Regions from separate parts of the Homo sapiens genome. Here regions 1, 2, 4 and 5 are each linked to region 3. The links are contacts of gene promoters, found by promoter capture Hi-C in human tissues and cell types (Jung and others, 2019). All regions are on one chromosome and are shown on one strand. The core of a region is centred on a gene start or on the middle of the fragment in contact, and the rest is flanking DNA. Distances in the headings are between cores, read along the strand shown.

Region 1 (4,530 bases), core at 950-3,449, 750 kb before region 3:
TCAGCCTCCTGAGTAGGTGGGAATACAGGGGCCCACCACCACACCCAGCTAATTTTTGTATTTTTAGTAGAGATGGAGTTTTGCCATGTTGGCCGTGTTGGTCTCCAACTCCTGGCCTCAAGTGATCCATCCACCTCAGCCACCTAACGTGCTGAGATTACAGGTGTGTCTGGCTTCTATTTCTATTGTCTATGTTATTATTGTTCTCATAAATATAATGTGTCTTTCTCTGGCTGCTTTTAAGATTTTACCTTTGTCTTTGATTTTTGCAGTTTTACCATGCTATTCTAGTATTTTTGTTTGGTATTGATCCTGTTTTGAAAAACCATTTTGAAAAATTCTCAATCAGAATGCCTTTGAATATTTTCCTGATTATGCACACATTAAGCTACATGAAGTTTTTTCACAGCTCACTTATACTTTTATCATTTGTTTGAGTCTATTTTTTCTGTGCTTCATTTAGGATATTTTCTCTTACTATACATCTTCAAGTTCACTAATTTTTTCTTCTACTATGTCTAATCTGCCATCAATCCCATTTATTATTTAATCTCAGACAGTAAAGTTTTTCTCCAGAAGTTTCATTTGGATCTTTTAAAATATTTTCCATATCTCTACTTCACTATCTGAACATATAGAATAAAGTTCTAACAACTGGTTTGTTCTTGTCTGCTAGTTCTAACTAACCTCTGTGCTGGTTCTGGATTGCCTTCAATTCACTGATTATTCTCCTCACTATAGGTCACGGTTCTTTGAATGCTTGATATCTTTATTTGGATGCCAAACATTGTGGATTTTTACCTTGTTGAGCTCTGAATATTTTTGTTTAAATATTCTTGTATAACTATTCTTGAGCTTTGTTCTGGGATGTATTGGAAATGATTTGATTCTTTCAGCTGTAACTTTTATGATTTGTTAGGCAGGTCCATAACTGCTTAATCTGAGGCCAATTATTCTCCATTACTAAGGCACAACATTGCTAAGTATTCTACCCAAATGCCTCATGAATTGAGTTTTCCAGTCTGGTTGGTGGGAATAGTCACTATTCTCAGCTTTGTGTATGTGTCAGGCACTATTCTCTCATTCTTCCAGATTTTTTTTCTTGCCCCATTCTTGGGTAGCTTCCTCACATGCATGTGTTGGTCTGTACTCTGTTGTGCACACAGGGGGAACCTTTGCAGACATCCAGGGTTTTCCCTTTGTATGCCGTCCCATGACCTCTGGCCATGGTGATCTCCTACATCCTCAGCCCCATCTCCTCTGCTCTACCTGGGTTTCCCCTCCCTGCACTGCAGCCTGGAAGTTTTCTGAAGGCAGTAAGCTGGAGTACTCCTAGGACTCCCCTTCATGCTCTGTCTGAATCACTGCCCTTTGTTTCCTGCTGAGAAGTCTTGAAAATCATTTTTTCATATATTTTGTATGTTTTTCTATTGTTGTTTCGGAAAGGAGGATAAATTCACGCCCTTTTATCTCACCTTGGGCAGAAGCAGAAGTTGGTGCATTGTATTTTAAAAATTTAGTTGACTGGGGAACTCTTTTTCATGGTGCACATTTTGGGAAATTTTAGGTTAAAGTTAATCTGACAGGCACTGGACACTCGATATTTTTTGAACTAAGAAATGGAATTTACCTATTAAAATTCAAATCCCTTTGAGAGGTAAACCCCTTAAATCATTAACATCCATTAGCACTGATTAGTTTATCTGAAGATTGGCTTTCCATTTATTTCTTGTCTAGCAGAGAAGAAAAAAATGGAAAAAATAAAATTACAGAGTCAGAAAATTAGGTTGTTAGGAGCGGATAAAGATAAGGGCCAAAGCTTAATAGTACCAAAGAATCTTTTTTTTAATTGATTTTTTTTTTTTTTTTTTTTTTTTGGAGCATCTTCTTTCTACAGGTGAGGTGAGGTGAATCTTGCAGAGGGTAAGTGTCTTACCTGAGGTCATGCAGCTTGGAATGGAAGAGCTGGGATTACAGCCTGGTTCTAAACTAGGCAACACATTTAAATGTGTTATATAGGAAATGATCAATAAATACTAATTTTTCTTTCCTTCTCAATCTAGTGCTGGAGCAGAGGTACTGAATGAGGAAGTGGAGTCTTGGGATACCTTTGGAGGGATCCAGTTAATGGACTGGCTGCCATAATTGGTCTGAGACACTGGTGCAAGCATGGTAGGTATGAGGGACTAAAAGGAAGGAAACAGCCCACTAGAGGACAATAATCCGAGTACAGAGATAGTATGGGAGCAAGTGACACATATGGTAAATTAAAAAGTCACTGCCCCTGTAATCCCAGTACTTTAGGAGGCCGAGGCGGGTGGATCACGAGGTCAGGAGATCAAGACCATCCTGGCTAACACAGTGAAACCTGGTCTCTACTAAAAATGCAAAAAATTACCCTTGGCATGGTGGCATACACCTGTAGTCCCAGCTACTCGGGAGGCTGAGGCAGGAAAATTGCTTGAACCTGGGAGGTGGAGGTTGCAGTGAGCCGAGATCACGCCACTGCACTCCAGCCTGGGTGACAGAGTAAGACTGTCAAAAAAAAAAAGTCACTGCCAACAACTGAAAATACCTCCAGGTATTTCCTTCCTTCCTTCCTTCCTTCCTTCCTTCCTTCCTTCCTTCCTTCCTTCCTTCCTTCCTTCTTTCCTTTCTTCCTTCCTTCCTCCCTTCCTTCCCACTTCCATAGTGGGAGCTCGGAGCCACATGTAATTTCATTTTTTTTTTTTTAAATAATGAACTGCCATGTTTCCTACTTCCAAATTCTAGAGTGCAATTCGTACCTGCTACACTCTGATGAGAGGGTGTAAGCTTTATTTGTAGAGCTGGAGTTAGTTTGGGCATTGCTATCATGATGATAGGCATTTTTAAGAGGCAGAGAATCAGGCAGGAAAATAGCACAAAGTAAATGCAGGGAACAGTTACAAAATAAATAGAAAACTTGGGCTCTTAACTTCAAGAAGCTTAATCTAAGCAGAGACATCAGGAAAACACACATCAAAGGACTTAGTAAAATGCCCCAAGTCAAATCACTGCTGTGCACAACACATACACTTGTAGGAATGATAGCTATTATTATCATAATTTGTTGAGTATCTACTATATGCAGGCATGTAGGCACTTTTTTTAAATTTAATTTTATTTATTTTTTAGAGACAGGATCTTGCTCTGTTGCCCAGGCTAGAGTGCAGTGGTATGATCATAGCTCACTGCAGCCTTGACCTAGCAGACTCAAGCGATCCTCCTGCCTCAGCCTCCAGAGGAGCTAGGACTACAGGCACACACCACCATGCCTGGCTAATTTATTTTTATTTTTTGGAGAGATGAGGTCTCCCTATGTTGCACAGTCTGGTCTCAAACTCCTGGGCTCATGTGATCCTCCCACCTTGGCCTTACAAAGCGCTGGAATTACAGGCGTAAGCCACCACACCTGGCCCACTTAGGAACTTTCTATATGCTATAGCATTTAATGTTCACTTTTAATGAGGAAATTAGGACCAGAGAGGTGAAGCAACTTGCCCACAATCACACAGCTAGCAAATGACAGAACTAGGTCTCAAGGTCAGGTCTGTCGTTTCCATCACCTTTGCTCGCATCACCACCCTTCTAAAGACAAACAGAGTAGTGGATCCTTAGATGCCAAGAGATAAACTTGGGATCAACACAGCTGGGAGGACCCAGCAAGAATTGGCAAAGTAGAGGGCATATTTTATAATTTAAGAAGCAAAATGCTGTCACATGTCAGCAGAGTCAAGGGGGAAAAAAGTGCATAAAACTAAAAAAATTAAGAATGATAAAGAAAAACCAAGTAGGTAAGGATGAGGGTGTGTTGACCCTTGTTTCAACTCCACTGGTTTCTTCCCCACAAAATCATTTAGGGAATAGAGAGACAATAACAGGAGGGCAGAGGCACTTAATCAGAGATTTTACAAACCACTAAATCAAAAGAGACTGTGAAATTCCCGCCCGGGGAAGCTAACAGTGAGATTAAATGGATTAGTCTACTGTACAGGAATCCGGGGAATGCAGGCAGCATGTGCTTTTGTTGTGGATTGCTCAGCAGCAACACGATAGTTTTACATCTCCCAGAAACATATGGGCATGTGCCCTTCTGCAAACCAGCAAGCAAGAGCAGCGCCTGGCGAGCTGCTTCCCCTACACCACACGTCTCGTTTCAGGAGGTGGCAGATAGTGACATTTTATGGAGAGCTTGCGCAGGGAACGTGTGGGAAATGAAAAGGCAACCCAGCTAATCGCACCCATAATTTCTAAGCTCAGAGCTGGGTTCACTACGGTTGTGGGGAATAAAAAAAGAACTGGAATTAGGAGTTCTGGTATTAATCCTTGCAAAGAAAGGGAGAAGAGGCTGGGTGCAGTGGCTCACGCCTGTAATGCCAGCACTTTGGGAGGCCTAGGCGGGCGGATCTCTTGAGGCCAGGAGTTCGAGACCAGCCTGGTCAACATGGTGAAACCCCTTCTCTACAAAAAAAAAAAAACATTACAAAAATTCGCCGGGCATGGTGATGC
Region 2 (4,753 bases), core at 366-2,865, 890 kb before region 3:
CTTGTGTTTCTCATCCTAGGCCCTAGGTTCTCCCAATGATATACTACTTAATCTATTGTGCTTGTTTCTCTGCCCCGATTCATTTGTCATTTGCAGACACTTTACCTTTGTCATTATTAGTAATATTCAATTCTGTAAGAGACATGCCCACATCCAAAATCTAGAGGTATACTTAATTACAAACTATATGCTTCCCTTGGAAAACAATAAACAAATCAAGGAACTGCAAGTTGAATCCTTCTTTCAATGTAGTAGGCAGCTTGTATTTTTATAAAGAGAGAATAAAAAAATGGATGTGACATATTTCTGTTTGGTAAATCTGTATTTTTATACATTCAGTTTACTTTAGCATGAGCCGCAGACAGTTTTTCAAAACCTACTCCAGTTGGTATAGTTTGTTTAAGATAGGGGCCAGGCCCAAAAGTTTTATTTTGTTTTGTTTTGTTTTCCTAGAAACTTGAAGAAAGGCATTTCTCTCTTCTTGGTGATTTACTGACTACATGTCCATACTCACTCTGTGCCAAGTATATAAATTAGACCATTTCTAATTCTTAAACAATCCTTCAGGAACAGCTATTGTTGCACCTATTTTATGGATGAGGAAATAGGAGCTTAGGGAAGGTACAACAGGCAGACATGGTCCTTTGGATGGAAAGCCGCAGATGTGAGATTCAATCTGAGTTCAGTCTGACTTCAAATAGTTACACTTTCTCCACCACAAACACTGCATGGAAGGGAGAAAAAAGATGGAATGATATCCAGATGGGTTAAAGCATGCCAGGGATACACAAGGAGAAAGTGGTTTCTGAAAGGCTTTCTCCACGAAACATGGAGGAAGAGTAGGCTAACACCAGCTCACATCATGATGCCTTTCTATGAATTAGAAAATGATACCTCTTCCTGGTAAGTGCAGCCTAACATGCAAACAGCTTGATGAGTGCAGAAGGGGCTGATTCTACCACCCCTCACCCAGCCACACCCTGACCTAGGGAACAAATTGTGCACAGCTACCCTATGGCTGGAGGAAGAGAGGCACAAGGACCTGAATGTGTGTGCAGACCAGAAGAGGATTGCATTATTTATTATTAGTAGCATTTATGATCTTCCAGTGTTTATACTTCTCATTCTCTTTTCTTTTGCAAATAGTGTAATGGGCAGGGGAAACTATTCCTACTGTCAAAGAGGTTTAACTCTATTTCTGGAGCCAAGTTCGGTTAGAGAGACTAACCGCACTTCCCAGGGCTGGCCTGGCTGAGAGCCAGTGCAGAAGTAATGCATCATTCTTATTGTGACTAACTTGTCCCAAAGAAAGTTCAAGTTGACTTATCTTAACAGTATTCACGTCTAATAACTTGGGGCCAATCTGATTTGCACCTTTGACTGGCTGCCGATTCTGTTTCTTCACCTCCACTGCTTTTGCCTCTTCTAGGTCTCTGTTTAAATTAATTAATCTGTGATATTGGACTTTGGTTAATAATAATAATATAAAGATAAAGATGAAGGAGGAGGAAGAGAAGAAGGAAACAAAATCATTAGGACTAAAATTATATAGCTCCATTACAAATGGGGGGATGAAAGAAGAGAGTAGGGAGTGCTAGGAAAGAGAAAGGTATTTTCTTTTTTTAATTTTATTTATTTTTTATTATTATACTTTAAATTCTAGGGTACATGTGCACAACGTGAAGGTTTGATACATAGGTAAACATGTGCCATGTTGGTTTGCTGCACCCATCAACTCATCATTTACATTAGGTATTTCTCCTAATGCTACCCCTCCCCCAGCCCCCCAGCCCCTGACAGGCCCCAGTGTGTGATGTTCCTTGCACTGTGTCCAGGTGATCTCATTGTTCAATTCCCATCTATGAGTGAGAACATGTGGTGTTTGGTTTTCTGTCCTTGTGATAGTTCACTGAGAATGATGGTTTCCAGCTTCATCCAAGTCCCTGCAAAGGACATGAACTCATCCTTTTTTATGGCTGCATAGTATTCCATGGTATATATATGCCACATTTTCTTAATCCAGTCTATCATTGATGGACATTTGGGTTGGTTCCAAGTCTTTGCTATTGTGAATAGTGCTGCAATAAACATACATGTGCATGTGTCTTTATAGTAGCATGATTTATAATCCTTTGGGTATATACCCAGTAATGGGATTGCTGGGTCAAATGGTATTTCTAGTTCCAGATCCTTGAGGAATCGCCACACTGACTTCCACATGGTTGAACTAGTTTAGAGTCCCACCAACAGTGTAAAAGTGTTCCTATTTCTCCACATCCTCTCCAGCATCTGTTGTTGCCTGACTTTTTAATGATTGCCATTCTAACTGGCGTGAGATGGTATCTCATTGTGGTTTTGATTTGCATTTCTCTGATGGCCAGTGATGATGAGCATTTTTTCATGTGTCTGTTGGCTGCATAGATGTCTTCTCTTGAGAAGTGCCTGTTCATATCCTTTGCCCACATTTTGATGGGGTTTTTTTTTTTCTTGTAAATTTGTTTGAGTTCTTTGTAGATTCTGGATATTAGCCCTTTGTCAGATGGGTAGATTGCAAAAATTTTCTCCCATTCTGTAGGTTGCCTGTTCACTCTGATGGTAGTTTCTTTTGCGTGCAGAAGCTCTTTAGTTTAATTAGATCCCATTTGTCTATTTTGGCTTTTGTTGCCATTGCTTTTGGTGTTTTAGACATGAAGTCCTTGCCCATGCCTATGTCCTGAATGGTATTGCCTAGGTTTTCTTCTAGGGTTTTTATGGTTTTAGGTCTAACAGTTAAGTCTTTAATCCATCTTGAATTAATTTTTGCATAAGGTGTAAGGAAGGGATCCAGTTTCGGCTTTCTACATATGGCTAGCCAGTTTTCCCAGCACCATTTATTAAATAGGGAATCCTTTCCCCATTTCTTGTTTTTGTCAGATTTGTCAAAGACCAAATGGTTGTAAATGTGTGGTGTTATTTCTGAGGCTCCTGTTCTGTTCCATTGGTCTATATATCTCTTTTGGTAGAGAAAGGTATTTTCACAAAGAGAAGGAGGCGTCTTAGAACTTCAAAGAAAACTCAAATTTGGCACATATTATCACATGTACTAGTAAGAACAGCCTTGTCAGATACGTGTTAGCAGATGCCCATTTTACAGAGGAGCAAACTGAGATTAGCAGGGTTAAATAACTTGTTCAAGGCACCTGGTATCCAGGTTTACACTCAAGTGTTCTGATTCCAAGTGCAATGAGTAGAGGAGGAAAGAGAATTCAGGGAGACTATGAGATTTCCTCAACCATATAAAGTTGAAGTATTGGTTCTCTCTCTCTCCCCATCTTCCTTTCTCTAATAATAGATCTGTTGTCCAATGTGCATGGCAAATCAATACAATGAGACACTGAGTTGCAGCAGAGATAAAGCTTTAAATGTAGGGCTGCCAAACGAGGAGACAAGATGAAACCTCAAAGCTGTCTCCCAGAGAAGCTTGAAGCTAGGGATTTTAAGGGTTTTGGAATGGGCTGAAGAGTGGTATCATTGATTGGCTGAAGAGTGCAAGGTGACGTCTTGGGACAGGGAGATGAAGAAACTGTATCCTCTTGCTGATTCAGTTTATCTGTAGGGGTTTCAAACAGATTGGTATCACCTGTTCCATGGGAATTCACAATCTGTTTAAGCAATTCTTAAGCAAAAGCCCTATAAACCTCATGTCAGAAATCCTAACTATAGGAACAATGGGATGCAAATGGACAGCATCTAGTGTATTGTGACTTTCAGTTACAAGGAAGTGTGTCAAAGTGCAGCCTGATTAATGCTTAATTATAACTATATTTATGTACAGAATTCTTGAGGGTGGCTTCCATGAGGATGGCTTCAACTGTACACAGCTGCAGAGACAGGAATCTGCAGTCAGCCCACCCAGTACTGAGGCTGATGACACCGCTATCCATCCACTTGCAGATTTTTAGCAACTTGGGGATAGGACCCAGTGCAGAATTTGGCATTGATAGGTGTTTCATAAGTGTTTGTTTAAGGAATAGGTGAGTAAAGTTATGCATCGATAAAAATAAATAAATTGTATTGTAAATATGGGGAAAATAGTTGTGTGGGTGCCAACAAGCAGGAAAGGGATTATGGGGAGAGGAAGGGGAAATTGGGAGCCATGAAGCCTACAGGGGAAATTAGCTCATCTGTCCAGCTGCAGAAAGTGCCTCCTGTAAGTAAGAGATAGGAAATAATCAGAAACTTTTAGCATCAAATTGAGACATGTGGAAAAACCTATCAAGGCCACTGAGTCAGAGTTGTGGCTGAGATGGAGGCACAGTTCTGATCTTTGTTAGAAAAATCCCATAAGTAGTTTGGAGGACACTAAGCAATTTGTTCCTTCCCTTCAGTTCCCAGTAGAAAGGGCCTCACCTTCTTATGTAGGAGGTGTGTGGGTCAGATCGCTGGGCAAATAAACTGTGCGGGAGGACACAGGCCTGGGAGTGGGGATGCAAAGAGGGTCCTCTTTCTCCATCCTTCAACTCTCCTTCTCATTAAGCTGGGAATTGAGACTGGTTTAAAAGGATTAACATAATTAAAATAAGGTACTTTAAAAAGCAAGTTCCAGCATAGAAAGCATTGGTTTTCTCTCTCTCTCTCTCTCTGTTTCTCTCCCCACCTTCCTTTCTCTGTTTCTGTTTCTCACCCTCACACTCCTCCTCCCTTGTATTCCTTTCTTTCCCATTTATCTGTGATCCCAGTGTGCTGTTTCAGCCAAAGCCGGAACCCTTCCTGA
Region 3 (4,475 bases), core at 213-2,712:
ATTTTTGTCTCAACATTTTGTGGTATTTTATCACAAAATACGCCCGGCAAAGCAAAGATCCCGTTCAGTCTCTTTAAACACGGCTATCTTTTCTCAGGAGGCAGCCGCCGGGGCTTCACTCCTGGGCCACCAGCGACGTCCTCCAAGCGGGTCGAGCGGAGGCGCGTTCGCGACCCAGGGGCAGCGTGCCGAGCCCGGGCGTGGGGGGGCGTGGCCTTTCCACTCGGCGACCCCCGGCCACCGCCCACCCCGCGCGTGGGGGCGTGCGCGACTGCGGGGCGCGGAGAGGGGTGACCTCGGACTACCCTAGGCGCCCGCAGCACGCTCTGTACACAGACGCGAGGCGCTGTCCTGAGGTGACACCGGCTGCACGGCACAAGCAGCAGGCGCCGCCGATCAACTAGTTCGCACCGAGGATTCCTCTTGGTGCGTGGCCCAGTTTTCCTTAGGACGGGCTCCAACCCCTCCCTGACACCGCCCCCCTCACCGCCACGCTCCGAGGCCTTCCCCGGGGAAGCCTCGCGTCCCTCCCCCGCGGCTCCGGGCCGCACGCGCGCGATTCCTCGATTCCACAGGCGGTTCGCGCCGCGGGTGGGGGCGGGGCGCGCGGGGAGGGGGCTGGCGGCCGCCAGGGGAGGGGGGCCGGGGCCCGGGGGGCGGAGGAGGGCCGGCGTGGGGAGTTCCTCGCTCGCGGACCACACGCTCCGCGGGCCAATCCCGAGCCAGCCTCTAGCAGTGTCGCACGCGGGACACGTCCAAGCGTTTGTTGGCACGGCCAGTGAGGGGGAGGGGGCGAGGAGGAGGGAGGGGAGTTGAGTGACAGGCTTTGCGGGGCAGGCTGGGAATTGTAGTTCCCAGCTTCCGTGGCCATAGCCATTTTGTAGTCGGGGGACTACAACTTCCAGAAGATCAAGGGGACCATTCTAAGGTGCCCCGGGAATAGGCGGCTCTCCCCGGGGCCGGGCGTCCTGGGGCACTCCTACCCAGCAGCCCGGCTGCAGGTAGACGCGAAGGCAGTGGCGGGGGCTGGCGTGGGGCGGCCGTGGGGTGAGCGGCAGGCAGGGGAAAGGGGGTGAGGTGGAGCGACGGAGCGTGCCATGCATTGAGCTAGGGAGCCTCTCTCAATTCCACGCCTGGGCTCGGCGTGGGAGCGACGCCCGAGGGCTTGCCTGGGAGGGGTTCGTCGAGGTCGCTCGGGTGTCTGGTTGGCCAGGCTGCGGGGGTGCCCTGGACTGGGCCAGGGGCGGTCGGCACCAGGCTAAGCGGGCGCCTGGCGGCTGAGCGGTGGGAGTTTTCGGCTGGCGCCCGGCGGGGAATTATCCGAGGAGCCCTAACTTGTATAAAAGCAGAGTCCATTTAAAGTTGGGCTGGATAGCCTCTCTCTCATTGGTTAGGGGGCTTGGAAAAAAGAGACTCGGCGAGCCCTCGCTGTGGTGCTGCCGCCGCCGCCGCCGCCGCCGCTGGAGTTGACTCTTCTGCTCGCACTGCTGCTGCAGCACAAACGTGACTTCCAACATTTTTTATTTATCTTTCCCTTTTCTTTTCCAAGATGTAACTACGGATCAGACACTAAGGACCTTCACGTTTCGCTGATGTAGTTTTTGGAGGAAAAAGGGGGGGGAGTGAAGGGCGTCGGTTTTTTTTTGTGTGTGTGTGTATGTGTTTCGGGGGAAATTTTCCATTATGAGTGTTTTACTAAAGTGAATTTTTTTTTGTTTGCTTCGTTCGTCTTTGGCTCTTTTTTTTTCCTTCCCAATTTCGGATTTATTTCAAGGCGAATCTGGCTTTGGGGGAAGAGGAAGAAAAGTCGGATTACAAGATCAACCACCACCAACAACAATAAAAACCACCAGGATATTTTTTTGCAAATTTCTGACGGCTTTAAATTCATGAAGCAATTGTCCCCTTTTGCAATCAGCATTTGGATCTCAGAATGAGCAAGGAAAGACCCAAGAGGAATATCATTCAGAAGAAATACGTAAGTGCTCCTAACAACACATCCTTTGACTTGCAGTTTTAAGCAATGGCTGTGAATGTCAAGTTTATAGATAATTCTGCCTCTGAAGGGTTTTAAACACAGCGTCCGATAAGGCTGTTTCTTTTTTTTCTGAAAGAGGGCTTTTCAAGCAAAGTGGTGTCTGCCTAGTTTGGTTGAAAAAACAGACTGGTGTAGAGATACCTCAAGTGAATAAATTGACCTCGAATGACACAACCATAATCTACTTTTAGATGAAAGGCAAGGGATTTTGGTGGAGCTTGAGGTGGGGGGTGGCTGCGGTAATGTAACTAAACTGCATTCTCAAGCGGATTTGGCCCCGTATTGCACTTTGCATGCAAATGAGCCTGTGTTATTATTATTAATGTTATTTGGAAAAATCGTGTAACGCATGTGTGTTGGAAGCCCTTTAAGTTGCGATCGAGGGTCCGATTATGGCGATCTTCTCTTTGCACTGGCACATCAAATTTAATGTCTGTGGTCGTTTTGGCTTATCTGGTTTGCAACATAAACCAGTTGGGAATCATGTTACAGCGAATGCATTTGTTGGGATTGACTTTAATAATGAGGCTGGTTTTGTTTAAAAAATTCATGGTTTCCAGTTGTAGGGGAAAAGGACACACACTATGGCTAATGTTTTTAAGTGTGTACGTGAATGCATATGTAAGTAACTACAAATAATTTCTCCCTGTTAACTGGGCTTCTGAAATTGGGTGATTATTCCTAGATTTAAATGGCTTGGAATAGTTAAATTTGTTTTGTGCATAGTACAGCTACGTTTTGATTGGCATGGGGAGTGTTTTTGTTTTGTGTGTGGTGGCTTTTTTTTTTTTTTAAGTTTGAGGGGAGGGAGGAAAGGGGGACCGAGGGATTAACCAAATATGCACTCGAGTGATCTGTGATTAGCTGCATGCTTTAAATTAAATAACTCTTTTTTTTTTTCAAAAAAGGCCAAATGAACATACCTTAGGAATAATGCAACGTAAGAGGAAAGTTTATTTAAGTTGGGTAGACAAATTGGTGTTAATATTTTCCCTTTTTGATCATTGTGGTGTGTGTAATGAGAGATGACCTTCGGGGCACTGGTTTTGTAAAAAAATATATTTAATGGAAAAGCTGAATGCCTCTTCAAGAGAGCTGATCCTTATCTAGACACGTCAACTTCAACTATGAAAGAAATGCAAGGTTAAATAATCAAGCCCAACTTAGAAAGCTGTTCCATAAAGAATTTAAGAATTAAAATACATCCGCATTGCAGAGGGCTGGGTAGAATGCAAAGGACTAGTTTAAACTCGGGCTGTAGAAACTGCACTGAGGCAACCTTGTCTTGGAGCGTGGACGCCTTCCCGGGGCACGTCCGTTTCGGATGCAGCCACAAAGCAAATGGGGTAGAACTTGGACGAGAACCGCACCCCGCCTCCCATTCCGGACCTCGTTGAGGTGGAGAGCAGCGTGGGGTGGGTTTTCTTTCTTATTGCGGGCGTTCAGCGGATCGTGTCTCCGAGTCCGGGCGTCCGGCTGCAAGCCCGTGGCTGGCGGCGGCTGCGGGAGGCACGGCACGAGTTAATGCACCGGGAGCAGAGCCGGTGTTCCCGACGTCCTCGAGCCGGCTGCGAAAGGGACGGCCCGCGGGGGTCGCGGCAGGCTGGGCCGGGGCTGGGCGGGCGGGCGCGCGCGCGCGGCCTATAGGGGGCATACTCCGGGCTCTAGGCGGGCGCGCGAGGCGGGCACCGGTCTACCCGGGCCGGCTTGCAGGCGGGCAGGAGGGCGGGTGGGGCGCGGGGGTGGCGCGGCCTGCGGGGCGCGGGGAGGGGAGAGCGCGCGGGGAGGGGGTGGGAGCGGGGGCGGGGGCGTGGGCGTGCCGGGGAGGGGGCGCGCGGCGCACAGCTGCAGCGGGCGCCCCCCACCGCGCACACGGCCGAGCATGGCGGCGGCGGCCCGGCCGGCTTCCCGCGGCCCTGCCTGCGGGCTCCGACGCAGTCTCGAGAGCAACAGGTTAAGCCGGCGAGACGTCAGCGCGCCCCCTCTCCGCCCCCCGGTTCTTCCCCCGCCGCGCGCCGGCGCCCCAGCCCTTCTTCCCTCCCTCCGCCCCCCGCGGCGCTCGGTTCCCCGACGCTCCCGGCCGCACTCTGTTGTCATTGTGACGTCACAAAGGGACGGGCTCGGGTGGAACCTTCCCCTCCTCCTCCGTGACGTCAAAAGTCGGGCGGGAGGCTCCAGGCGCGGCGGGGCGGCGGGGGGAGGAGGGAGCTGGGCGGGGGCGGGGGCTGCCGCAGAGCCGGGCTGCGGCGTGGGAGGAGGAAGAGGAGGAAGATGCGCTCGGCCTCTGCCTTCCGCTCCGGAGCGTCGCGCTTCCCACCAGGTGAGGGCCGGGGAGCCGTAGGTCCCCAAAGGAGTGCCACTGGACCCTGTTCTGATGCCACTTGGGAAGCGGGGAGCGGGGAGGAGGCGCCTCCTTTCTGCAGGAATGTTTTCACTT
Region 4 (4,443 bases), core at 400-2,899, 630 kb before region 3:
TGTCATTTGGAAATGACAGCCAGCCAAGAGAAGGTTAATGCTCTCATCAAAAATGCCCATCTTCCAAGTTGGTTAAATGGGTCTTTCTGGTTCGCCTGACTGCTTGCTCCTTTCCCAGATAGCTCAGCATCTCAATGAAGTGCTCTTGCAATTTAGCTTTGCCCAAGTGCAACGAATGTCCAGGGTTTCCTACGGGTCCCAGGTTTAACAAAACTCAGCCACGAATCTGCCCAGAACGTGCCAAAGCACACGGATTAGCCCATGGCCATTGGAAGGACAATCTTCCAGGGACTGTTTTCTACTTCTGTAGGAACAAGAAGAAAGGGACACGACAGTGGCTTCAAGTAGAATTTGTTCCAAAAAATGAAGGTCCCCACTGCTTGCTTCCCCTCTTTTGACTTAGCAATCTTGCCATTGTTTCTCCAAGAGCAGCCCACAGGCCATGTGTCTCAGAATTACCTGGGGTGGTATTACAACTGTGGGTCCCTTAGCCCCATTACTACCTCTCCCGACTGCCCAAGCCCCACGTTAATTACTTTACTGGAGTTGGAATTAATGTGTTTAATAAAGGTCCTTCTGAACTGGAAATTCAATGACTCTGTCAAGAAAGGAGGATAACACCTTCTCTGAGAGGCAAGTGTTAAAAATACATGGTTAACAAGATGAGAAAGAAGCTTGCCAGGTGAGAAGAGGGGAGAGTAAACTTGACTCAACTACACAGATCTCTTGCTTCAGTTAGCTAATGGCGCCAGCCTCTCAGTGAATGAGACACAGAACCAGGCTATTTTGGGGAATGACTGGGGAGTGACTGTGGAAGTGGGGAAGAAGCAAAAAGTAACTGCAAAAGGAAAAGGGAGGTACTGTGGCAACTCTTGAGGTCAGCTTCTCACCCCGCCAAAGTTCTCAGAAGAGCTCAGCTCTGAGAAACAGGCTGAGTGGACAGATTGGGAAAACGTGCATTTATCTCCCTAAGAACTCAGTGCCAGAGTATTCTACATGAGGCAGGCAGGTGTGGCTATGCAGGTATCCCTTAGTGTCCCAATAGCAGCCCAGTGAGAACCAGAGGGACGCATTCCGTCATTCTTTAGCAAATCTGAAAAGAAGAATGTATTCATTTTCTATTACGGTTGTAACAAATTACCATAAAGTCAGTGACTTCAAACAACAGAACTTTATTCTCCAGCAGTTCTTGGAGCTGGAAGTCTGTAAGGAATCTTATGAGGCTAAAATCAACATGTCGATAGGGCTGAATCCTTCTGGAGGCTCCAGGGGAACATCCATTCCTGCCTCTTCAAGCTTCCAGTGGCTGCCAGCATTGCTTGGCTTGTGGCCGCATCACTGTAATGTCTGCTACCATCATCCAATTGACTTCTCCTCTTCTGTAGTCAAATGGCTCTGTGCCTCCCTATTATAAGTATACTTGTGGTTACTTTTAGGGCCCACCCAGATAATCCAGGATAATGCTCCCCTTTCAGAGTTCTTGATGTAATCATATCTTCAAAATTCATTTTGCTATACAAGGTAACGTTTGCAGGTTCCAAGGGTTCACATGCAAATATCTTTGGGTGCCATTACTCAGCCCTCCACATCCAGGTTTGGGGGATGGGATGCCTGCTGAATGGACTTGTTGGGGGTGGCGCTAGTATAGCATAAGCAATTCTTAGGAAGCTTTTCCAGTCTGCAAGAGCTTGCCCCTCTGCCATCTATGGAAGAGCCCATTCAGGCAGCTGAACTGGCCCCATTTCATCTCATAGTCTAGAATCTTTATAAGCCTCGGAATCAAATGCACGAAGGTGACAGTGTTTGCAGCTTAACTCCTAGGAGTGGAGTCAGGAAGGAACACCCCACCTCCATTCGTTCATGCTGTCCATATTAAAATTTCTTTTGTTCCAGACACACGTGGCATGGGACGTGGGTTAAAAGGGGAAACGAGGTTGCTAGCCTACTTCACGAATCAGTGAAGAACGCTGCCAAAGTTAAAGCCGTTGACTCAGAGTTTCTCCCACTGTTGCTTGTCTTCTGAAGTGGAGCTTAATTTGACAGCAATTCTAGGAAGGGGTAAAGAAAAAAATCTGCAAGTTTTCAATGGATGCTCAGAGATGGATCTTTCTTTCTATGTGCATGTGCATGAAGGAGATAGCTTAAGACAGTCTGACTTTGTGGTCAGAGTAGGTATTTAATTATGGGGTTTCCTGTATTTTATGTATGCCTGCAAGAAGAATTCTTTGTAAATCAATGACAGTAGCCATATGAAAAAATTAGTGATTCTTTCAACTGAATTCCCACAAGGTAAAAGAGTCTAGTCTAAACACATTTTCTGAAGTTCTGACATCATTTTTTGACTCTACATCATGTTGAAAACTTAAATGGCTATTAGGACAGTTCAGCCCTTGCTGCCTCACCATAAGCCAAAATATGAGATGACACATTTTAAGGAGTCTCCTAGGATGCAGTTCCCTAAGTCCCAACATTTTCTGTTTCACATCTGGCTCTGGAATGCATTGGTTCCAGTACTTCACCCTAGAGGATCTTTCTGCTAAATATCATAGGTAACAGTGAGCACTGATGATCTCGTTACTCCTTTCTCTCTTCTGTCTAACCCAGAATCCCCTGCAAGGGATTTTTTTTCCCCCAGCACATTCTCTCCGTCTCCCAAAAAGCTAGACCTTACTTCAGCCTGTCTTCTATTTCAGATCTTTCTCCCTTAGCAAAAACTTTTGGGCCTGGGGTATTTACTTACACAATCAAATAGCCTTATTTGGTTAGTACCAGAATCCCACACTGTAGGATTTCTCGGTAGATTTTTTTTTTCCTTGGAATCAGCAGCTTTTAGAATTAAACTATTTGAACAAAGTTAGAATAGGAAAAGCTGAGAGGTGGCATAATCCCTTAGTGGTGTTGACAAAGAAAAAATAGATATTCTTGGTTGAAGAGGAACAATAGATGTTTAGGAAGACTAGCTTCTTGCTAGTCAGATGAACCATCCTGCAATGTATAATTGCCTAGGAAAACAACCTGAGGGGAAATGAATTGGAGAGACCAACTCTACCCCTCCAAACTCCTTGACCTTAACCATGTAATCTCTTCAGAATGGCCCCAGCAGTCCAAAAGGCAAATGGCATGAGCACTTTTCAAATCTATATGCGCATTTTACCTGCCAACAGAGCTATTAGAATTTAATAGGCTCATATCGATGCTCAAGTGTTTTGCAACACCTATTACAAGGGGTGTTTTCAAAACTAACTTTTCCCCAACCAAAAGCAAGGAAAAGCAACCCATAAGAGAAACAGGAAATGAGCTGCACAGGTTTGACTTAAGTGATGTAGGATGGAAGCTCTGAATTGTTGCTGGCGTCATTTAATGGAATTCAGTCTCCGAAAGTCTATTGCCCCGCACAAAGAAAAGCCTGTTCAGGCCTCCTCTGGGCACTATTAAGTCTAAACCTGGATTATGGGGGACACGGATGGAGACACATGCCCTGGTCTCCCAATTTATAGTGACTCCTGGCACCTGGAGGCACCAGCCTTCAACTTCACTCACAGCGTGATCCTGAAGCCAACAATTAATGTTCACACCAACAAGGGAGTTGAGGCTTAGGAAACTGCAACTACTTGCCCAAAGTAAATGGCAAAGTTGGGATTTGAGCACAGGCTGTCTGCCTCCTTTCCTTTGCGAAGGTCTAAAGATAAGTTGGACTGTGCGATCACTGAGGTGCCTGCTGGCTCTGTTTCTCTATGATGCTTACGGTTTAAGAAGTGCTGCTTAATTTTGGTTTAGTTACAATTTCTCCCTCTAGCATTTTTCTTTTCTGTACCATTTCTGCATTCCAAAATGTGCACCCTCTGCCCCTCTGTCTGTCCCTCTCTGTCTCTCTCTCTCTCTTTCTTTCTCCTCATTGGTGACTCCCCTTAGACCTTAAGTGAAGCATTTATGCAGAATTAAGCCCACCATTCACAGGATGGAAAAGAGAGAAGACTTGGTGACTTTTGCTTTTGCCTTCTTGCCCAATGTCTTTGCATCCAGTATCTCTTCTCAACCTCCCAGTGACTCCAAGGGGTGGGTCCTATCGTTATCTTTGTCTCACAGGTGAAGAAACTGACCATTCCAGACACCACGTGACTAATCAATGGCAGAGGCAGGGTTTTAACCCCATTCTCTGTGACTGGCCATCCTCCTCCTTTCATCTCCACTGCTCTGCCTTTCTGGCTCTGAGTAGAGCAGAGTTAGGTGTGCACCCTCCCTGACTTGGCGACCAGATCCTGTCCCAGTGCAGCGTGTTTGTGCCAGGCTCCTCCTGGCCAGCTGCTGTGCCACAAGGTGTTACTTCATTTGGCCGCCCGTCTTCATGGGGAGACCCCAAAGCACATTGGCGCCCTCTGTGCAGTGGGTGTGGCAGTTCCGAACACAGCTATCCCTGACCAGATTGACACAGCCCTTCTGTGA
Region 5 (4,168 bases), core at 202-2,701, 770 kb before region 3:
CCTGGATTCATGCTTCTGGGTTAAAATCTGTCAGGGCATCCTGCTTGTCCCCTCATGCCTCCCTCCCTCCCACCGTGTCCACAAGGGACTCTTCCTCTACCCTAGCCCCCAACACTGGGCTCAGTCACTGGAATTCATCACTCATGGGTGGGCTCCCGGTGGGATGGTTAGCTCCTCTGCTTGCACCTGAGTAATTAGAAGGGTCGTTTCATATTCTTCTGTGTTCTCGGAGGTGCTGCCCACTTGTGCATTTGGGCAGGGAGGGCTCTGCTCCCTCAGTGGTGGTTGGAGTGAAGGAAGGATGAACCATAGACCAGAGGGTAGTTCCTTCGGCCGCAGGCAGCACTCACAGCTCACTTAATTTGCACAAAGCATACAGAGAGAACCTGACCTCTTGCTCAAGAAAGAAAGAAAGAAAATACAGCTGGAGCTGGGACTGGGAGGGAGAGAAAGGGCTCTCTTCTGGACAGGCAGCTGCTTGTGTTGCGTTGGAGTCCTCTGTCTGTACCTCCATCTGCCCTGGTGAGATAACATTTCACGATGAGAGCTGAGGAGGTGGCTCCCTCCCGCAGAGGTGCATGACTTGGCTGGAGTGTTTTGCTTCGCTGGCACACGTCTTCTCTTTTCAAGTTAGCTGAGCTCACACATCCCCCTTGCTTGTTTGCAAAGTCCATATGGGAGATGAAGGCGAGACAGTTTGACTAAGGGCAGAAGGAGGGAGTGAAGAGGAGGAAATGTGGGAGCGGGGATGCCTGGCCAGACCGAGCCTTCCTCAAATTAGGTCACTGTTTATATAAAAAGTTAAAATTAAACCGAGGACTATTTTCCAAGGTTTCTGACACTGGACATGGCTCTGTGCAGCATCCCTGGAATGCAGTGCAATAAACATCACAGAGCACATGACGTCACACTGAGGGAGAAGCCAGGGAATGTCACTAGCAATGAATCCCAGGCTCTACACAATTATGCTGGAGACAGACAACATCCTTGTTCTCTCTGACTCTTTCCTCTGAGTTTTCCTGCTGGCTTTTTCTGTTCTTCTAATTCTCACGTTTTTATCCACGAGGCAACCATGTCCCCTGAGAGTTACCACACACAGGGCTCTATGTTTCTGTTTGGCCAATAGCATAAAGCTCTTCAACAAAGCTTTGACCTTCCTTCTCCTTCCGACAAATTGTTACGGCCTTACCTTCTCACAGTGATTCCTCAACATGAAACAGCAAGGTAGGTTTCATTATCACCAATCTGCAGATGGAAAAAGCAGGCTCAGCGAGGTTCAAGGACTTCCTTAAAATCACAGAGCAAGACAGCGGCTGAGAGGCACTCAAAGCAAGGTGGTCTATGAGCTTCCCAGTATACCACACCACCCTTCTGACTGCCCTTGTCCTGGCACACCTCCGTAGGTTTGCCATGTTTAAGTGGCAATTAGAAGGGATGTTCCCTGAGGGAAGGGACTCCGGCATATGCCTTAATGCACCTGTGGTGTCCAGCACAGTGCTTGCTACATCATAGACATTCAAAAGTCCGTGTTCAGTGAAGATCCTTATATATGCCCGTTAGCCATGTGTTTGACTTTTTCTCTTGTAGTCTGGAAGGTCTTTGGAGGCCTGGGTTATGATTTTTCCTTAATATGGGGCCAAGTCAATAACCTCAACCTCTGCCTCCAAGAGATTTAAATGGAAATGAAACATTGAGTATAAGATGAACCCACCCGATCCACCAAGCAGTATTCTTTATATGGCTTCCCTAGTGTCAAAATACATCGCTTCAGGCCTGGCCATTGTTGACTCCATTGTTGACATCCTGTCTCCTTCTGGTAGTCAGATTCCTCTTCCATGTTTGAATTCTGTATCTATGTTTTTAAATAAGCCAGGAAACACTCACCCCGCCAGCTCCAAATTAGTTCTTCTTTTCATGCCTTTTCTGTTTCCTGGCTCCATGCCACAGTCTCCCTCCATTAGAATTAAGAAATAGCGCTCAGAGAGTCATATGTCTTCACCTAGTTAGCACCTTTCCTTCGGGACAGCTTCTCTGAGGGTGGCTCCCACATATGCCAGGCTTTTCTCCTAGCAATTCCTAGGTTGTCAGTGTCAGGGGCAGGGAGGAGCATGTGTGAGGATGGGTGTGGGTAGGGGAGGAGAGGGGAAGGTGCAGAACACTGTTACACGAGGCACTCTGTCGTGGTGATTGAAGGAAGCAGTTTCTTGGCCATGTGTCCAGGATGTGCTTTAAGGGAGCCAAGACAGATCATTCATATCTTATGAAGAGTTGTATTTGGAATCTTTAAATAAATAGGAAATGCTTGTCTCTCCTTATCTAACTCTCCATTTGTCTTTTTTAAATCCTAAGTTTCATAAAGATACCTGGAATTAAATCATCCCAAGTTAGGTTTCCATAAAAGTCCTTAGCCAGCAAAATCTTTCTCTCTGGGGCCACCTTTTTCTGGGAAGTTCCCTCAGCTCTGCCCGTCCTCCTACCCTCCGCTGTACTCCCCACAGCCGTCCTTCACAACACTTAGCACACTGTGCTGGGGTGAGATGAGCTCCCTCGTCTCTCTCCCTTTCCCTGTCTTCTCTATTCACACGGAGCCTGGCTCATAACAGAAGGCCAACAAAAGACTGTTGAAGGAATTAATAAATGAGTAAAATTTTCTTGACATTTAGTTTGAATTTTTATTCTCAGATTTCAACATAAGACTATCCTACATGTATCACAAAAGCAGAAATTCCCTGAGGGGAATCTCATATGTGATTATTGAATTATTTTCTAGATTTTAATTTATTCTGCTTTTGCATTCTTTTTTTCAGCTGTCTATTACTTGGTAACAATCTCCTCCCATTATTTAAGAGTTGGTGGTTGGCAGGGCTCAGGTGGCAGTTCTTCAGCATGAAAGTGCAATAGCTCAGGTCACTCATCAGGTGCATTCACCTGGAAGTTCACTGAGACTTACACATCCTTGACGGTCTCTTATTCTGTGGGGGTCTTTCTCTATGTGGTTGCTCATCATTCAGTGATCTAGCCCGAACTTCTTCATAGAATGGCAGGTGGCTTCCAAGAGGAAGCATTTCAAGAGGACAAGCCCCGATGTGCAAGTGCTTATCCAGCTTCTGTTCGGTCACATTTGCTGCTGTTCCACTGGCCAAAGCAAGCCCCATGGCCAAGTCCTCTACCAATGCAGAAGGGACCGTGCGAGGGCATGTCATAGTCTACCACTGTTACAGAACCCAGCTGGGTCTGTTTGACCATGCAGGGCAGAAACCCAAACACTGAAGTGTTGAATTTTTTAGAAAGAAAGTGTTATTGCAGGGCAGCCAAACAAGAAGATAGGAGATGGGTTCAAATCTATCTGCTCATCTCAGCTCACAAGTAGTATATTTAAGGTCAGCAATTTTAGGAGGAGGATTTGGGGGCTGGTTAAGGACTTGTAGAAAGGAAAGGGAAGTTAGGAAATTCTCATTCAAGAAATAAACAAGTGAATAGGAACAGCTCCGGTCTACAGCTCCCAGCGTGAGCGACGCAGAAGACGGATGATTTCTGCATTTCCTTCTGAGGTACTGGGTTCATCTCACTAGGGAGTGCCAGACAGTGGGCGCAGGTCAGTGGGTGCAGCGCACCGTGCTCGAGCCGAAGCAGGGCGAGGCATTGCCTCACTCGGGAAGCGCAAGGGGTCAGGGAATTCCCTATCCTAGTCAAAGAAAGGGGCGACAAACGGCACCTGGAAAATCGGGTCACTCCCACCCGAATACTGCGCTTTTCCGACAGGCTTAAAAAACTGCGCACCAGGAGATTATATCCCACACCTGGCTTGGAGGGTCCTATGCCCACGGAGTCTCGCTGATTGCTAGCACAGCAGTCTGAGATCAAACTGCAAGGTGGCAGCCAGGCTGGGGGAGGGGCGCCCGCCATTGCCCAGGCTTGCTTAGGTAAACAAAGCAGCCGGGAAGCTGGAACTGGGTGGAGCCCACCACAGCTCAAGGAGGCCTGCCTGCCTCTGTAGGCTCCACCTCTGGGGGCAGGGCACAGACAAAAAGAGAGCAGTAACCTCTGCAGACTTAAATGTCCCTGTCTGACAGCTTTGAAGAGAGCAGTGGTTCTCCCAGCATGCAGCTGGAGATCTGAGAATGGGCAGACTGCCTCCTCAAGTGGGTCCCTGACCCCTGACCTCTGA

What was found. Contacts are between HindIII fragments. The study calls those that stand out against the background at their distance.
Region 1: a fragment that was not itself captured here is called in contact with the fragment with the promoter of JARID2 in region 3 in 1 of the 25 tissues and cell types used here (aorta).
Region 2: a contact is called between a fragment that was not itself captured here and the fragment with the promoter of JARID2 in region 3, in 1 of the 25 tissues and cell types used here (heart left ventricle).
Region 4: a fragment that was not itself captured here is called in contact with the fragment with the promoter of JARID2 in region 3 in 1 of the 25 tissues and cell types used here (mesenchymal stem cells).
Region 5: a fragment that was not itself captured here is called in contact with the fragment with the promoter of JARID2 in region 3 in 2 of the 25 tissues and cell types used here (IMR-90 fibroblasts and hippocampus).

The regions. Positions count from the first base shown.
Region 1 is chr6:14,495,994-14,500,523 of GRCh38, forward strand. LOC101928331 (a long non-coding RNA gene) reads left to right here. Exons shown (of 3, transcript XR_001743994.3): 2 at 2,064-2,172. Among named protein-coding and RNA genes, the nearest start is that of LINC01108, 210 kb to the left of the region's middle. The HindIII fragment of the contact is 4,076 bases long and covers 162-4,237 here.
Region 2 is chr6:14,354,110-14,358,862 of GRCh38, forward strand. No RefSeq gene overlaps it. Among named protein-coding and RNA genes, the nearest start is that of LINC01108, 71 kb to the left of the region's middle. The HindIII fragment of the contact is 3,624 bases long and covers 1-3,427 here.
Region 3 is chr6:15,244,607-15,249,081 of GRCh38, forward strand. JARID2 (jumonji and AT-rich interaction domain containing 2) reads left to right here and starts at 1,463. Exons shown (of 18, transcript NM_004973.4): 1 at 1,463-1,978. The coding sequence starts at 1,934. It overlaps JARID2-DT (JARID2 divergent transcript), which reads right to left and starts at 768. Exons shown (of 1, transcript NR_187237.1): 1 at 1-768. JARID2-AS1 (JARID2 antisense RNA 1) reads right to left here and starts at 4,090. Exons shown (of 2, transcript NR_120502.1): 1 at 3,904-4,090; 2 at 3,209-3,538. RefSeq lists enhancers at 1-91, 1,281-1,330, 1,441-1,540 and silencers at 91-400, 411-670, 3,656-3,715, 3,836-4,315. The HindIII fragment of the contact is 9,534 bases long and covers 1-4,475 here.
Region 4 is chr6:14,614,885-14,619,327 of GRCh38, forward strand. All of the region lies in intron 2 of LOC101928354 (a long non-coding RNA gene), which reads right to left. Among named protein-coding and RNA genes, the nearest start is that of LINC01108, 330 kb to the left of the region's middle. The HindIII fragment of the contact is 3,840 bases long and covers 1-3,569 here.
Region 5 is chr6:14,476,519-14,480,686 of GRCh38, forward strand. All of the region lies in intron 1 of LOC101928331 (a long non-coding RNA gene), which reads left to right. Among named protein-coding and RNA genes, the nearest start is that of LINC01108, 190 kb to the left of the region's middle. The HindIII fragment of the contact is 3,597 bases long and covers 1-3,250 here.